Regions from separate parts of the Homo sapiens genome. Here all the other regions are linked to region 1. The links are contacts of gene promoters, found by promoter capture Hi-C in human tissues and cell types (Jung and others, 2019). All regions are on one chromosome and are shown on one strand. Each heading gives the region's core, a stretch centred on a gene start or on the middle of the fragment in contact. The rest is flanking DNA. Distances are from core to core; before and after follow the strand shown.

The links. Contacts are between HindIII fragments. The study calls those that stand out against the background at their distance.
Region 2: a contact is called between a fragment that was not itself captured here and the fragment with the promoter of RAB3B in region 1, in 3 of the 25 tissues and cell types used here (small bowel, spleen and stomach).
Region 3: a fragment that was not itself captured here is called in contact with the fragment with the promoter of RAB3B in region 1 in 1 of the 25 tissues and cell types used here (ovary).

Annotation. Positions count from the first base shown.
Region 1 is chr1:51,988,372-51,992,632 of GRCh38, forward strand. It overlaps RAB3B (RAB3B, member RAS oncogene family), which reads right to left and starts at 2,329. Exons shown (of 5, transcript NM_002867.4): 1 at 2,181-2,329. RefSeq lists a silencer at 2,243-2,352. The HindIII fragment of the contact is 14,307 bases long and covers 901-4,261 here.
Region 2 is chr1:51,929,275-51,933,535 of GRCh38, forward strand. RAB3B (RAB3B, member RAS oncogene family) reads right to left here. Exons shown (of 5, transcript NM_002867.4): 4 at 4,044-4,168. Among named protein-coding and RNA genes, the nearest start is that of NRDC, 53 kb to the left of the region's middle. The HindIII fragment of the contact is 3,929 bases long and covers 233-4,161 here.
Region 3 is chr1:52,024,078-52,028,338 of GRCh38, forward strand. TXNDC12 (thioredoxin domain containing 12) reads right to left here. Exons shown (of 7, transcript NM_015913.4): 4 at 3,198-3,271; 5 at 433-502. Among named protein-coding and RNA genes, the nearest start is that of KTI12, 7.6 kb to the right of the region's middle. The HindIII fragment of the contact is 9,000 bases long and covers 1-4,261 here.

The sequences.
Region 1 (4,261 bases), core at 1,079-3,578:
TACCATTTATTGAGCACCTACTAAATGTCTAGCATTCTACAAGATGCTTTCAAAGCATTCCATCTTGCACCAACAGATGCTTGATATTCATTTCCTTCCTCCTCCAGATTGGAAAGAGATAGCCATGGGTGTGTCCACTGACAAAACAGGAACACCTGCAGAATAACATCAGTGGCCTCTCTCTTTGTACATTGTTTTACAGTTTACAAAGTTCTTTTCACCCACATTATCCTATTTGATTCTCACAACAATTCTTGGGAATGGATGAAGAAATTGAGGCAGGAGCACCAATTATTCATTCAATCAACATTCACCAAGCACCTACTATGCACCAGGACCTGTGCTATACTTTAGGGAGATGGAGAGAAACCCTAGGAGCTTCAAGCTTAGAGGGGAAATCTATTTAAATATTTTGTATAGGTTACTGATGCCTCCCTTCATGTCATAATCTTTAAGAAACTGAAGATCTATTTCTTGGACTGGAGATGCTTTTAGATTTTTGCCTTTTCCCATACGGTTTCCTCTGATAGGAACACACTTTCCTCCACTGCTAGCTAAATCCTTCATGACCAGGAAGGCTTCCCCAACCCACCCACCTCCCCCAAAATGCTTCTTCTCTGGCTCCCACAGGGCACCAGGGCTTTCCACTTCTATAGATAGGGCCTTTCACGGCTTCCATTGTCTTCCTCTGTTTATAGGCACAGAACAGGTGGACACCCACCTGTGCGCGCGCACACACACACACACACACACACACACACATCCTCTCCTTTTACTGTCTCCCACCCCTTTCCATCTGGATTCCAGGAAGCCGGGGGAAGAGGGCCCATCTTGTTTTGTGTGTGTGTGTGTGTGTGTGTGTGTGTGTGTGTGTGTGTGTGTGTGTTTTGAGGGCCCATCTTTCTCCCACCTCCTCCACATCTCTCTTAGCTTCCAAAGGCTGCTGCCCTGCCCTCCCCAAAGTTGCTTCCATGCTTGGACTACAGAACAGAGTTGGATGACTTTTTCTGTCCACGATTCTCTTATTTTCTGTGATCCCCGGTGCCCGTGTAACAAGGTCCAGTGCCTGGGTCCCCTCCTTGGACTCCTGAGTGGCCGAGACACCGCTAGTGCGTGGACACCACTCCAGCCCCCATTACCTTTCCACCCTTACACCACGACCCACACCTGGCCTCCTCCCCAGGCTGACCCAGCGCCCCACCACCCTATCTATACACTCCAAGTTCTCCCACGATTCCTCCACTTGCAGCCGCCAGACCCTACTCTATTCCAGAGCCTCCTCTCCACTCCTGACCAGAATGTAGGCCCCTGTGTCCATTTCCAAGGCCACTTCCCTGTGTCTCCACCGGCTCCCTGCCCCCTTCCTCTGCAGCAGGGTAGACCCAACCTGGCCTCTCACCCTTCCATTCTCCCAAGCTTCCCGCCCCCAAGCCCCACCCCTCGTCTTCCATCTACAGTTACCCCCACGCCGGTCCCCAGCCGGGCTCAACCTCCGACCCCAGCTATCCATACCCACATCCCCCATAAATGACCCTCTTTCGACCAGACACTGCCCTGCTGCCTTTCTCCTTCCCAGCTATCCATACCCACATCCCCACCCCCGACCCTCTCCCAACCAGACACTCCCCAGCTGCCCAGCGCCCCTTGCCCTCGGCACCTCAGTCCCCTCCAGCTCCAAACGACCCCCGCCCAGCCAGTCCCCTCCCCTCAGCTCCTCACCTCCATGCCTCCCCCCGCACCCCCGCTCTAGCTCCCCTCAGTCCGCTCCCTTCACCGCCCCCTTCGCTGCCCCTCGGCTGCCCGGTACCACCTTTCCGCACAGCCCCACTCCGCCCTCCTCGCAGCTCCCCCGCCCCCCACGCCCCCGTTTCCCCCAGCGATCCCTCACTGCCCTCCAGTTGCCCCCCATCTCTCCTCCCAGCCCCAGCGCCGTCTTTCTTGCTCCCCTCCCGCCCTTGGAGCTCCCCCGGCTGCCCCCAACGTCTGGGAGACCCCCTCGGCGCCCCCTCCCTAGGTGAGCCCCACCTCTGCCGCCGCGGAGCCCCCTCCCTCGCTCCTCCCCCGGCTTCCTTCCGCTGCCCCGCGCTCCTTCTCGGCGCCCGCTCTCGGTGCCCAGCGCCCCGCGCCGGGGATCGGTCCCTGATCCTCCGCGGGCGGGCTGCCGGGGCCGCGCCCCTTACCGCGGACTCCGAGTGCGGGACGACGGGTTCGCTCCCGGACGGTCGGCGGGACGGCAGGACCTGGCGTCGGGAGGGCGCGGAGGGGGCCGGGGCGGGGCGCTGCGGGATGGTCTGGTCCGGTCAGGTCCTCACAGTGGCGCCTGAGGGCTGAGGCTCCCGCTCCAGCACTGCTCCGCTCCGGCCGCATCCAGGCCCCGCCCAAGGGCGGAGTCTGTGTTCGCCCCGCCCCGGCCCTCAACTCCTAGCAGGTGTAATCCGAGGTGACTCAGGACCTCCAGGTCCCCCATGTCTGGGTGACTCTCGTGATTTATCTTAATTGTCATGCCTCGTTCCATTGACTGAACTTACTAGGGTAATTAGAGAGCTTTGATGATAATGTAGCTGATGATGGGTAGCAGTTTTGCCATTTCCAAACTGCTTTCTGGTCCGGTCCGTTCTATGGCTCCGTCTTCACAAAAGCCCAGAGAGGGAGGCTGACTACAAGCGGAAACCAAGCCAGAAACCTGGACGCTGTCCTCTACCCTATCTGTGTTTCCTTCACACCCCACATCCCACCGCCTTAACATATCCCTGCCCTTCCTCTGTGTCTCCATTGCCCTTGTTCTGACTCCAGCATCATCACTTCTTGCTTGGACTAATGCAACAGCTTCCTAATTCCTGCCTTCACTCTCCAATTCACCCTATAAAACCAGGACGTGGTGTCAGCATGGCCATTTCCACCCTTGTACAAAAATTCTTTCTCCTGTGGTCTCCAGTCATACCACCCTCCACCCCTCCTCATCACTGACACCCAATTGTTCCTTATGCATTAAAGATTGCAGCCCCTGGCCCATGGTCATCCTAACTAGCCCCTGTTCTGCCATACTCCTGGTGACTTCGGTAGCTGTGAGACTTCCTGGTCCCATTCATTCTGAGTCAGATACCAAAATCATTTTGACACAAGCCCGAGCAACCCTTTAAAAAATGTCACCATGTTACCATCAACCTTGTTTAAGAAAACTCTCGGCCAGGCACAGTGGCTGACGCCTGTAATCCCAGCACTTTGGAAGGCCAAAGTGGGCAGATCACTTGAGGTCAGGAGTTCGAGACCAACCTGGCCAACATGGTGAAACCCTGTCTCTACTAAAAATACAAAAATTAGCCGGGCATGGTGGTGCATGCCTGTAGTCCCAGCTACTTGGGAGGCTGAGGCAGAATTGCTTGCACCCAGGAGGCAGAGGTTGCAGTGAGCCGAGATCACTGCACTCCAGCAGTGCACTCCAGCCTGGGCAACAAAGCCAGACTCCATCAAAAACCAAACAAACAAACAAACAAAAACCTCTCAATGGTTTCCCATTACCAGGAGGCTGTCAACAGGAGTAGAAAAATGTTCTTGCCTGGCCTGGCCCTAGGAAGTCCCACTTCCACTAGAGGAGGCAGATAGAGGAGGCAATAAATACCCCACCCTCAAATCCTGATATGGACTTCCAGTCTTCCTGAGGTCACAGGAGCCAGCTGAAGGCTTGCTCTAGAATCATTGTCTTTCCCCACACTTCTCCCCCATCTCAGATCTTAGAGGTCTGAGTCAAATACCAAAACCATTTTCCCCCCAAGTTCCATTATGACCCTGTCTACAGTGTACATCTCCAGCCTAGGAACCACCCAAGCTGACAGCTCCTCTGCTTGTCTGGCCTCTGCCTCAGACGCTTACTCTTCTGAGCTTCTTGCCCAGCCCTTTCACTCACACTGCCCATCACACTGGCAGCTCTTTCCTCTGTGCCTTCTAGAATCCTGTTCTTTTGTCAACAAACTCTGCTATACCCTCTGCTTCTTCAGAGTACTCAGGTGACTTCTTTGCCTGAGCCTCCTCCAGGTACTGCCTCCTTTGCTGCCCTCTGCTAGAAGGCTTCTCATTTTTCCACTCCCCATATACTATAAAACTAGGATGTGGGGATGGCATGGCCATTTCCACCCTTGTGCAAAAATTCTTTCTTCTGTGCTCTCCAGCCATACCCCCCTCAACCCCTCCTCATCACTGACCCCCCAATTGCTCCTTATGCATTACAGATTGCAGCCCCTGGCTCATGGTCATCCTCACTAGC
Region 2 (4,261 bases), core at 947-3,446, 59 kb before region 1:
ATTGAGCCCTGGGTCTTGTGGACTTCCCAGTTACAGGAGCTAATACATTCTCTCCCTTTTTTTTTCTTTTTGAGATGGAGTCTTGCTCTGTCACCCAGGCTGGAGTGCAGTGGGGCAATCTCAGCTCACTGTAACCTCTGCCTCTTGGATTCAAAGGATTCTCCTGCTTCAGCCTCCCGAGTAGCTGGGACTACATGCTCGGCTAATTTTTGTATTTTTAGTAGAGATGGGGTTTCACCATGTTGACCAGGTTGGTATCAAACCAGGCTGACCTCAAGTGATCCACCCACCTCAGCCTCCCAAAGTGCTGGGATTACAAGTGTGAGCCACTGCGCCCAGCCAATTCTATTTTTTTTATTAAAGCTAGTTTGATTTGCAATTTTATCACTTGCAATAACAAGAGTCCTAACTCAAGTAGAACTTATCACAATTTTAACAGCTGTATTGAGCCATAATTCACATACCATACAATTCACCCATTTATTTGCACAATTTTTAATTAATATTTGTGTAAGTATTTATTTAATGTCTCTTTCCCCATTAGTTCCATGACAGTAAGGATTGCAGCTGTTTGTTCATCATTCATTATATCCTAAGTGCCAGGGCAGAACTTGGCTCAGCGTGCTCAATAAATGTTTTTCACTGAATAAGTAAAATGTATTAATGAATATCTACCCTATGCTGGGTCCTTAGGATAATGAAACAAATCAGACACAATCCATGCAGTAGAAGCCTAGGAGGAGAGATAAACATGTAAATAGGCAAGTTCTGGTGATCAATAGCAGAAAGCTCAGGGAGTCGAGTTAGGCAGAGATGGGTTACTTTGACCTGCCCAAATCTAACCAATTCATTAAGGTCTTCTTCAAGTGCCTTCCTAAAAACATGGCACTAAGATTTAATCTCAGGTGTTCTATCTGTGTTCCTAAATAAATTTGATAGGTTTATACTGAGTCCACCACTTGCTAATGGTATAGCTTGAGCAAGTTATTTAACCTCTCTGAACCTCATTTTTGAGAGTATTGGACATGCTCTATAGTACCTAGCTTGAAGGTTTATAAAGAGACTTAAATGAGATAATTAATGCTAAACATTTCACATAGTGCCTTGTTCAATATATATCAGCTATGATTACCACATTTGCTGTGTAGTAAAGTTAAGTGGTTAGGAGCACAGGCTCTGGGAGCCAGACTACCACCTGAGTTGAAATACTGGTTCTACCCTCTTACTAGCTGTGTGACTTTGGCAAGTTACTCAACTTCTCTGTGCCTCACTTTTCTCATCTGTTAAAAAAAACACACACACACAAAATGTGGAGATAAGGAAAGAACATATCTTGGAGGGTTTTAGAGGGATTAAATTAGATGCATAATACTTTGAAACACTTAGAATAAATAGTGCCTGACACATGGTAAGCACCTAATAAATGTTTAACCAATTCACCTTTAAAAAATCTTAGAATGGCCATACAAGGTGGCTCATGCCTATAATCCCAGCACTTTGGGAGGCTGAGGTGGGCAGATCACCTGAGGTCAGGAGTTCGAGACCAGCCTGGCCAACATGATGAAACCCCGTCTCTACTGAAAATACAAAAAATTAGCCAGGCATGGTGGTGGGTGCCTATAATCCCAGCTACTCAGGAAGCTGAGGCAGGAGAATCACTTGAACCCGGGAGGCAGAGGTTGCAGTAAGCCGAGATCGCCCCACTGCACTCCAGCCTGGGTGACAAGAGTGAAACTCCATCTCAAAAAAAAAAATCTTAGTGAGAAGGGCTTGGCATGCTGGTATATTTTTTTCTAATACATATCCAAATATGTATTAGAAAATAAATACAGAAAATCATCCTGCACAATTCCAGTGGCGTGAGTCCCCTCTTTGGGCAACACTACTCCAGACTCACACCATCCAGTGATTTATGGTTCCCTGACCCACAAGGCAGCTCCTTGCCTCTGCCAGGGTTATGCCCCTGCCTGGAATGCCCTTAACTTTCTTCTTCACTGGACTGGTCCTACTTATCTTCAAGACTCCACTTGGGCATCATGTTCTCTGATCCCAGGAGAATGACGTTCCTCCTCTATGCTCCCCCAACATCCCTCTGTCACAGCCCTGACCAATTGGACTATGACTGTTACTGTAGGCTTTCTCACTGGATCGAGCTTATTCAGACCAGGAAATGTAGCCTATTTCACAGCTCAGGGCCTAGAACAGAGTAGGCACTCAGGAAGTCTTCACTGGACAATAAAATGAAGTACCCAAATACTTAACATCATAAAATTAACCAAAACATATTTTTGCATCCTCCGTGCCCGGCCATATGCTAGGCACAGTAGGCACAAAGACAAACAAGATTCATTTCCTGTCTGCAGGGAACTTTCGGGAGACAGACAAGTAAATGAGTGCATCCAACTGTGATGGGTACTGTGACTCTTTTACGTATGGGGTGCATTGAGAGAACAAATAAAGAGCTCTGGCAGGGGGCTGGGAAAGGTTTCATAGAAGATGTGAAGTGTAAGCTGTTTTGAAAGCTGAGTGGGGTCTCACCAGCTGGATGAGGGTAGAAGATGGGGAGTAGAAGAGAGCATTCCAAGCAGATGAAATATAGTCAGTCCAGGGAGAGTGCTGGGAGCCTCCAGGGAGACTACAGGTTGAAAGCCTAAAGGGACCGTCTAAAGTTCACCAGGTGTGGGCTTCATCACTTGCTTATTGGTCAATGGACCACATGGAGGCACTTTCTGGACTCTGAGAACCTCTGTGATAGTGTAGAGACAGCAAGGCCCAAGATGACCCAACCTCCCTGTTTATTAAGCACTTATAGTTTGCTACAGTTTACAGGACACCTTGGGGAGAAAAAAGTATACAACACACACACACCCACATACTCATAATACAAATATATAAAACACACAATTCACACTTGTATTTTATACAGATTACCCACCTATAAGCCCAAATATCTGTTCTTCAGAAACTGTCAGAGACTTTAAACTCTCCACTCCTCAATACTTACAACACTAAGGATGTGAGATATACTTAGGGAGACTGTCTAAAAGCTAAGCAGTACATCTATTCTAGAGGAAGATTTCAAACTTTCAAACCTACAGGCATGGAACTCTTTTTGTAAGGCAACCTTACCCTGGACCCCAATACATAAAATAAAAGCTCTTCTTTTAAGCAAAGGTAGGTAGAGTTCTGCTTTGGGGCCACTGAGACATGCCTGGGCACCTAGGCCTCAAAGGAGCACAAGGATCAAAATATGTTAAGCTTGGAAAAAGTCAGGACACCGATGAGCTACATACTCAAACCACATAGTTTTGTTCCTTCATACTATTACTTTTGTTGTGAATTGTGTTTTGGTGAGAAGCATGAATTTGCATTGAGATAAACTGTAAGAACAGCATATAAATACTCAGTGCTGGAAGGATGTTTGATATTCAAGACATGGTCACATTCAGCATACAGAGTCTGCTCTACAGTTGATGATGAAGAGTAGTGCTTCTCTGGAATAATGGGTTTGTTTTTATACTAGGACACTCTAAACCATGTAGCTGATTATGTTTCCCTCTTGGCAAAGGTTGCTAGGAAGCTCAAAGACAACATTTTGGCCCCAACTCTTGCAGGTGTCCAAGAACTTAATACTTACCCTAGCTTCCTCTTATTTTTCCCTCACCCTTGCTTTCCCTTTGCTCCAATTTTCTCACTTACTTATTTATTTTTATTGTTGTATTGTGACCATTTTTATAAGATATCTCAAGTCCTTTGTGGAAGGAACTGGTAAAAAAAAAGAGTTTATAAATTTAAAATTTATTTACACATTCAATATAACAAAATATATACATATCAAAAATGATGAATTATCTAAAACTCACAGCACAAAGCCCATATGTACCTCATACAAATATAAAACAATACACACAGATCACATAGGTACATAATTCACAATCACAACACTAATGTCATAAATACAAACACACTCGTACCCTGTTTACCCCACTCTCATGAGCATGTGTACAAATGCACACATGCACATACATGTGTCATGTACATACCAAGCTGCTCTGCAAGGAGCTGGCCCTTCTCAGTGGGAACAACCCTCTCTTCCTCCATGTCACACTTGTTCCCCACCAGAATAACTTGTGCATTGTCCCAGGAGTAGGTCTTGATCTGAGTAGCCCTAAAATGAGATAGAAAGAGATATGTTAATCATATTCCTATAGACTGAATGTCTGTGTCCCCACCTCCAAATTTACATGTTGAAGCCTAATCC
Region 3 (4,261 bases), core at 1,051-3,550, 36 kb after region 1:
TTGACCTCCCAGGCTCAATTGATCCTCCCGCCTCAGCCTCCTAAATAGCTGAGACTACAGGTGCGTGCCACCACACCCGGCTAATTTTTGTACTTTTTGTAGAGACGGGCTTTCACCGTGTTGCCCATGCTGGTCTCAAATTGGACTCAAGCAATTCACCCATCTCAGCCTCCCAAAGTGCTGAGACTACAGGCATGAGCCACTGTGCCCGGCCAAACTTTTGTCATTGCTTACAAAAGCAGTTAGTTAATGGGAAAAGTTTTCCTTCAGACTTGTAGTTCTAGCATTCAGAACTCCCCCACTCTCTCTTGAAACTGGTTTTTATTTGTTTGTGGTCATCCTGGTATAGTTTCACTAGGTGAAGTCAGTGCCTTGATTCATTTCTCTCTCCATCCACATCATGGATTCCCAGGTTAAGATCATGTGCCTTACCCAGAAAAAGGATTCGTGGAATATAACCCCCGTCAGGGCTGAAATCTTCATCTTTGGGTTCCTCTTCATCCTATTAAGATTAAATGTAAACCTTAAGTCAGATAACGTCCTCTCTCTCCTCAAAACCATTCAGTGGCTTCCCCACTTGTCAGGGCAAAACCCCAAGTCCTTGCAGTGGCCTATAAGGCCCTACATGATCTATCACCTAGGCACTTCTCTAACTTAATGTCCTACCCCTTGTTAAGTCCTCTTCAGCTACACTGACCTCTTGCTGTTGCTGTCATTAAACAAGCCAGGGATAATCCTAACACAGGCTTTTGGACTTGCTCTTAACTCTCTGCTGAACACACTTTCCCCATTATTATCCACATGGTTGACTCCCTTTTCTGTTTCAGACCTTTGCTCAAATATCCCTTTATTTTCAAACCATCTATTTAAAACCACAGTCATCCCTTCCACCTTTCTTTTTTAGCCCTAGCATTTACCACCATCTGACATATTCTAAAATACTTATTTTCTGTCTTCCCACACTAGCATGTTATTTCAACGAGGAAATTTTGTCTGTTTTGTTCACTGCTATATTCCTAGTACCTACATCATTGACTTGCACATAGTATTTCTTTAGTGCATGAATCAATAAGACTGGCATTTTAGTCAAAGTTGTGGACTCATAGTCCTCCCAGGAGATTAAAAACCTACACAATCAGTTTTCTTTTTTTTTTTTTTTGAGACGGAGTCTCGCTCTGTCGCCCAGGCTGGAGTGCAGTTGTGCGATCTCGGCCCACTGCAAGCTCCGCCTCCTGGGTTCATGCCATCTTCTGCCTCAGCTGCCTGAGTAGCTGGGACTACAGGTGCCCGCCACCATGCCCAGCTAATTTTTTTATATTTTTAGTAGAGACGGGGTTTCACCATGTTAGCCAGGATGGTCTCAATCTCCTGACCTTGTGATCCACCTGCCTTGGCCTCCCAAAGTGCTGGGATCACAGGCATAAGCCACCACGCCCGGCCTAATCAGTTTTCTTTTTAAGAAATTTCCAAAGTTGGAGAATCCTCTATGAAGACGTTTTTACTGTTTCCTTTGAGTAGGAATCCTAATTCACCACAGAAAGTGGTGAGGAATTCATGTGCAAAGGCAATCAATACTTTCACAATTTATGATGTGGTTCCCATTTCAGGGGTTAAATACTTCGCTATGGTGAGGTGTATCAGCATTCAGGCTATCCCCTAGCTATATAAGCAATCCCTTAGCTGCCTCACTGTTAACTGTTAATGTGTTCACAAGAGTCCCAGACCTATGTTTAAGTAAACATTATCTTTTTTTTTTTTTTTCTCTTTTTTGAGATGGAGTTTCACTCTCTCACCCAGGCTGGAGTGCAGTGGCGCGATCTCAGCTCACTGCAACCTCTGCCTCCTGGGTCAAGCGATTCTCCTGCCTCAGGCTCCCTAGTAGCTGGGACTACAGGCACGCACCACCACACCCAGCTAATTTTTTTGTATTTTTAGTAGAGACAGGGTTTCACCATATTGGCCAGGCTGGTCTTGAACTCCTGACCTCATGATCTACCCACCTCAGCCTCCCAAAGTGCTGAGATTACAGGCATGAGCCACCATGTCTGGCCCAAGTAAACATTATTTTTACAGAAACGTATGGCTAGCGGTATCATCATAGAGCATCTGAGTACCTCACATGTGAAAAGTATGGCCTGAAAGAGAGCACGGCTAGGTGAGAGTACCTATTCTTATCACTTATTAGGCTCTATGACCTTGACCAAATCACATACCTGCTTCAGGCCTAAGATGGTTCTTTCTGTAAAATGAGGATAGTACCAATAGCCTAAAAATCCCTTCCAACTCTAAGATCTGACATTCTATGACTCAGGATTCCAAGACCTGCAGCCTATATGAGGTATGTAAAAGCTATTTTCATAAGGAAACAAGCAGGTTGCACATATAAGCCCAACACAGATTAGGTGCTCAGTTGAATCACATTTTGCAGAAAGTTGTGGTCTGCATGTATGACTATACCTTTAGTCTAGCTTTACAAAGACATAAAACATGTCATAATCATAAACTAAGGATAAAAGGACCTTAAAATCTAGTCATCTTAAGGCTGGGCATGCTGGCTCACGCCTGTAATCCCAGCATTTTGGGAGGCCGAGGCAGGCAGATCACTTAAGGTCAGGGGTTTGAGACTAGCCTGGCCAACATTGTGAGACCCTCATATCTACTAAAAATACAAAAATTGGCCAAACGCGGTGGCTCACATCTGTAATCCTAGCACTTTGGGAGGCTAAGGTGGGTAGATCACCAGAGGTCAGGAGTTTGAGACCAACCTGGCCAACATGGCAAAACCCCATCTCTATTAAAAATATAAAAATTAGCCTGGTGTGGTGGTGCATGCCTGTAGTCCCAACCACTCGGGAGGCGGAGGCAGGAGAATTGATTTAACCCGGGAGGAGGAGGTTGCAGCGAGCCAGGATCGCACCACTGCACTCCAGCCTGGGCAACAGAGCCAGACTCCATATAAAAAAAAAAAAAATTTAGTCATCTTATTCAATCTCTCCTCTCCTAGTTCCTCCCAGAAATAGATGTTAGATGGCTTTCTAACATATCTGATGCAAGCCTTAGTATTAGCGGTCAAGAGAAAAACACATACATAAATTTGACTTCATACCACTAATGAAGCTGTAATGAATATGCACGAATGATACTAACTTTAAAAGTCTTAAAATCATAGCAGAAAGGAGAAACTCTCAAAGTCTTACCTCAAGATTTACCATAACAAAATTATGGGAGAGTTCTGAAATTTCCGTAGATTCTGCAAATTTGGGCTTTAGAGCTGGGGGGAAAAAGATTTTGGAATAGAAGAAAAAACATCATTGTCACAACTAAACCTTAACGAACATAAGCATCACTATTTCTCTTTGGTAGTTTAGGCATTTGTTTAGTTGATTCATATAACAAACTTTTTTTACACTCTAAAAAACAAGAATTAGGCTACCTGGATTCTGAACCTGCACAGCTATGTGACCTTGAGTGACTTACTTCATTTCTCTGAAGCTGTTACCTCATTTATAAAATAAGGATAATGGCATACGAATAGGGGGGAAAAGCATTATTTGCTTTTTATAGTTACATTTCAAAAACCATTGACATGAAAGACAATAGAGTGACAGTCTGCCACACGTGTATATGTGTGTGTATACATATATGTATGTGTGTATATATGTTATATATACATATATACATATATACGTATATATTATATGTTATATATGTTATGTATATATGTGTATATATGTTATATACACACATACATTCCTATTATTATTATTATTTTTGAGACAGAGTCTCACTCTGTCACCCAGGCTGGAGTACAATGGTACGATCTCAGCTCACTGCAACCTCCGCCTCTCGGGCTCAAGCGATTCTCAGCCTCCCGAGTAGCTAGGATTACAGGCGCGTGCCACCAAATCCAGCTACTTTTTTTGTATTTTTAGTAGAGGCGGGGTTTCACTATGTTGGGCAGGCTGGTCAACTCCTGGCCTCAAGTGATCTGCCCGGCCCAGCCTCCCAGAGTGCTGGGATTACAGGCATGAGCCACTGCGCCTGGTCTTTTATACTATTTTTTACACTCCTTTTCCATCTAGGATTTTAAGTGCAGCATACTAAATAAAAGAAAAAGCCTGTCTGGGGAAGTGGCAAGGTGGTATAGCAGAAAGAACACATGCCACAGAGTCAGATAACTTGGGTTCTAATTTGGGTCCTACTTCCTTCTCATGTCTCTGTCCGTACATTTCAGCTTCCTCTAACATGTATTGTTCATTTG